2 separate regions of the Homo sapiens genome follow, and region 2 is linked to region 1. Evidence: promoter capture Hi-C in 16 types of primary human blood cells and fetal thymus (Javierre and others, 2016). All regions are on one chromosome and are shown on one strand. Each heading gives the region's core, a stretch centred on a gene start or on the middle of the fragment in contact. The rest is flanking DNA. Distances are from core to core; before and after follow the strand shown. Region 1 holds the start of PCDH9-AS3 (PCDH9 antisense RNA 3). Region 2 overlaps PCDH9 (protocadherin 9).

Region 1 (2,513 bases), core at 8-2,507:
CAATCCATATATAAATCCTTACATAAATCTCTGATCTATAATTCACATACTTCTACAAAAGAAGTCTGAATAATTATATTTTGTAGTCTATGTAGAAAAACTAAAATAGGAGCATATGTGAATGTCTCATAATAAATTTTACTTTTTAATCACATATATCTGCACAATAGGTACCTTTAAGAAACTTGTAAAATAGCATACTAAGGAATAGTATCTATTTTTCTTGCAGTCATGCAGAAATTGCAATTGCTTTTATTTTGCAGATGGATAATCCTAAGCAAGGAGAAAAATCAGTGTTTGTTTTTTTTTTGTATTTGGTTTGCAGAGTTACTTTACCCTAAATACCTTACAAGATCTATCTGAAAATTATCATTTAAATTGGCTCCTGAATTTCAGCATCTGAACATAATTCTCCCATTTTCTTATGGTCAGTGACAGCAACAATAACAGCAACAACAACAAAACTCCAAACTAACAAGAATTAAAATGCAAGACAATAACAAACTATCAATAACCTGAAACTATACCTTGAAAACATCATTTCTCTTATCTGGTAAATTAATCTTTTATATGTCTAATTAAACAATTGAACATTTTAGTGTTTCTTTTCACTTACGAAAGGGCTTTAAAGTGTTTTAAGGGATACAACAGGTATGAAAAAATATTTAGCAAATTTTCACTTAACATTATTAACATCTGTCTGCATTATGTGCTTCCTCTAAACATTATATTTTTGCCTTTAAAATCGGCATTCCTTTAATTGCCTTGTAGCTATTTTCTATGCGAAATCTGGTGGGATAGAGCATTTCCACTGAGGAGATCAGATTTTACCAGAAGCACCATTTCCCAGCACTCTTTTCTGGTAGAAGCTGGGTTCCTGGTGGAAATGATGCTGCTTTTAGGATGATCTGAAGTACTCTGGAGAGATACCTTCTGCTCAGTTACCATTCAAGCTGGAACCTGCTATGACAGTTGTCAACAGTGCCCTTTCTGATGTCGCCCAGTTGTGTTCCATTTAGAATAAGTACTTAAAGAGACACCTGCTCGGAAAGCCAGAATAGAGAAGCTGCATGATTCTGGCAAACATATGTAGACAATAATATCCCTTTCCTACCTTGGGCAATAACTTAATAAAGCCTTTAAGACAACAGAATCTTAAGTAGTCATCCTTTTTGTTGTTGATGAGAAGGAGGGATATGGATACCAGCATCAAAACTTTCTTTATGTGCCTACAGCTGTGATCTGGGCACTACCACGTTATCCTGCTGCTATGACTCTCCAGCCATATGCTGCCGTTTATAGTACAGCCTATGATTCAGGCTGCAATGCTTGTGAAATTGGCATAAAGGCTGTCATCACCGTACTCTAAACACCCTGCAAGCCAGATTTTTCTTCTTCCTTTGAAAATTAGACGAGATCCCCCAAATGTCAAGCATATAGATGGTATATATTCTAAACATATAAAGGTGTACCATTCAAAAAGAGCAAAATATTATTTATTAATTATCACAGAGGGAGAAGTATAAAGATAATCTATTAACAGAATGAGAAATAAAATGACCCAACCCAAACCTATTAAAGGTCTCTGGTAAGTAAGGAAAAGCATTTAAAGATGACAGACTAAGTCTTTGGATCACTGGGGTGCAGAGCAGTGGTCTGCTTTTCAACATTAGTGTTTAAATGGAAAACAAAAATCTAAAATTAGTTTCAAATTTCAGAAGCCTGATTTTATGATTTTATCTTTACCCTCAGGAATTATACAATGAAAAAATGATAATAAAGGTGGTCCTATGGATAAAAACAAAGGTAAAATAAACTCTCTGCACTTTCCCAAACATCAGATTTATCCTTATTTTTCTTACTTGATTACAGATAAAGTGTAATATCCTGGACTAGATACAGGTCATACAAATGACAAATTACAGTTTGTATCTGTTTTTCCCATCTACCCTGACTTCCACCTAAAGGCGCTTGTTCTGATCCTAGCTCTACCTGCCTTGCCTAAGTATTGACTTCTGTTGTTCATATTGGTCTTGAGCCTTGTTGGGTTTATGGAATTGCTACTCCCAGTAAAATATTGTATGTATGGTAATAAGACATGTGTCTTATGGAGGGTGATCTACAGTTTATTTATGAAAAGTCATTTGAAACTCAAAGAGTTATTTTACTGGAAAAAATTCAGGTACTGAAAGATTCCATAGAGAAAATGAGTTTCACCCAAAGGGCTCAGATAATCCTCAAACCATACCCATATGAAAGTTGCCCAGTATAACTTTAAATACATCTCCAGTTTATGTGTTCTTTAGATTGACTACTTTACATAGACTACTACCATATCTTCTATACATTTCTATTAATTACTTAAAATGAATAATCAATATTTTTCCTCCAATATTTAAAACTAAAATAAATAAATAACTGCATGCAACTGAAAAGTAGTTTGCCAATGAGGGGATTTTAGAATTGAAGAATATCAGTTAGATGGATTGGATGAGACAGTAGGCAGCAGACAC
Region 2 (2,513 bases), core at 4-2,503, 290 kb after region 1:
TCCATTGGCTCCATTGGAATTGTAATTAAATATCTTAAGAACAAAAATAATATTTCAGAACATTATTTTCTTTTATTCATTCCTACCATGTGAACTTTAATCGATAGCTGTAGAGTGAACATAATTATATTATTTCATCTCAAGACTTCCTTTCGAGTGTCTTATTGTAGATGAAGAACACTAAATTATGCAAAGGTCTTCAAAACCAAATATGATGCTTCAGTCCAACAGGGTAAAGGAATGCTTTTTTTATTTTTCAATAATGTATATATTGTGATCATGGAAATATTTGCCCTCTAATATTTCAACATGACTTACATTGATGATAAAGCTATAGATTTTAATTTTCTTCCAGGTTAATGGATGTCTCTTTCAAATTCATAACATGGAGGTAAATTGAAGACTGACAAAATTTCTTCATGCCATGTAGAGGCTAATATCAAAGAAGCTTTGTTATAGCATGTTCCTCATCTAGTCTACTTGCAACTGATTTATACACCATGTGTAAAGTTGTAAATAGGATACAGAAGCACAATGCCTCATAGCTCAAAATGACCTAGCCAGAGATTTGGATGAATAATGGTGGATTTCTAAAAATTTATTTTCCATGTGTAACAGATATTGCCCAGGCTTAAGTAGGTAGTAGTATTTTCAAAGGACTCCAATATATAATAAGCATGTCTTTGGAGATAAGAAATAAAGGCACTGACCATGATTTCAAATATTACGACTATAATATGAAATTTGTAAACACAATGTAATATTTTTGGTATTCAATACAGTTTTACAAATATAAGGCATGTATTCTTTATCTTGTTCTTGTTTTCTTCTAAAGAGCTCAATTTCAATAGGTAAAAAATACGTGGGTTCATTTTCTCAATGGTGATTATAATGATTAAGTTTATTTTTCTTCTGAGATATCAGGACAGGTATTATAATAATTTTCAGAGGCAAAGGCATCTATGTTTATTTTTTTTCTATTGCTTATCACATTAAAAGTTAAAATAATAGTAAAAAAATCAAGTATTTTTAAATTTAACTGTGTCCAATCTTACATCATTGAAACAAAAGACAGTAGATATTTTGACAATACATTGGACTAGATGTTGTTTATTAGCATACTTTAAGTACTCCATAACAAAAGAAATTCAGTATTCTGCTATTCTAACTATGTCAATGGAAGTACATAGCACTTTAAAATGATTTATGTTTATGTTGGCCGGGTGCGGTGGCTCATGACTGTAATTTCAGCACTTTGGGAGTTCAAGGCAGGAGGATCACTTGAGGTCAGGAATTCGAGACCAGCCTGACCAACATGGTGAAACACCATTTCTACTAAAAAATACAAAAATTAGCTAGGCATGGTGGCAGGAGCCTGTAATTCCAGCTGCTTGGGAGGCTGAGTGGGAGGATCGCTTGAACCTGGGTGGCAGAGGTTTCAGTGAGTCAAGATGGTGCCACTGCACTCTGGCCAGTGCTACAGGGTGAGACTCCATCTCAAAATAAATAAAATAAATAAATAAATAAAATTTACAAAATAAAATGATTTACGTTTAGGTAAAATACATTATTTAAAACTTAAGGGGATATTAACATAATTTAAAACTTTAGTGCAATATGTCTCAGGCTTACGCTGGTGACACTGCTGGCAGTTCATGAGATGTGGTTGAGGACAGAGGTCTTGCTTGCATTCTAGCATGTAGTTAGATTATTCACAGGGACTCTTTAATTCCATTCTCAGTAGAGACTAATATATATTTCACCTAGAAATATGTTTTCCTGTGGAAAGAATTCAGGGAATAAAACCAGGAAACTTATTTCTGACCCTGATTTTGACATCTATCCTCTGGACTACTTTGCCAACTCAGGTTCCACTTCTGTAAAATGATGATTTCCTTTGGTGATCTTAAAACTTCAGTTTAAGTGACTTTTAAAATTGCCTTTTCTGACATACCACGTGTGCTATGGTTAGAGCCTTTCCCTCTGTTTTCATAGCCTTTTTTTATTCTGTACTAAACCTTGTAGTGTGTCTGTTACACACCTTCACTGTAAGCTTCTTGAGAGCAGAAGATGGCTTATGATTCTTTAACCCTAATATCAAGCAAATGTAACCTTTTGTATAGGTTACATTTGTATTTGTTTGAAGAACAATTGAATCATCACTGAAGTCTTCAGACTTAAAATCTATCAATCCTTGTCAGGATTACCTCGAAGTTTTTTTCTAACTTTAAAATTAGACAATTCTATATTTGCCTATATCATACTTAGATTTTCTTAAGGAACTTATGTCACCTACCTGCTATATCGTGATGATGAACTATTTAAATGCAAAAAAAACTGCATTACTCCATCAAAAAAGTATTGTTTAAATACTAGAAGTTAAATAACTTAGTGCACTGTGTTTATTTAGAAGAGAATAATACATAATGCTTATTTCTGTGCAGTTGTTTCTTATTGCATGGTTTATTTATGTGCACTTTTACTGGCATATGTCTTTGCTTTTATTTATGTAG

Evidence for each region. Contacts are between HindIII fragments. The CHiCAGO score rates a contact against its expected background, and 5 or more counts as called.
Region 2: a contact is called between a fragment that was not itself captured here and the fragment with the promoter of PCDH9-AS3 in region 1, in 1 of 17 cell types (total B cells). The highest score is 5.7, in total B cells.

What each region holds. Positions count from the first base shown.
Region 1 is chr13:66,976,133-66,978,645 of GRCh38, reverse strand. PCDH9-AS3 (PCDH9 antisense RNA 3) reads right to left here and starts at 1,257. Exons shown (of 3, transcript NR_046636.1): 1 at 1,115-1,257; 2 at 175-273. All of the region lies in intron 2 of PCDH9 (protocadherin 9), which reads left to right. The HindIII fragment of the contact is 7,912 bases long and covers 1-2,513 here.
Region 2 is chr13:66,690,042-66,692,554 of GRCh38, reverse strand. All of the region lies in intron 3 of PCDH9 (protocadherin 9), which reads left to right. Among named protein-coding and RNA genes, the nearest start is that of PCDH9-AS2, 130 kb to the left of the region's middle. The HindIII fragment of the contact is 1,605 bases long and covers 451-2,055 here.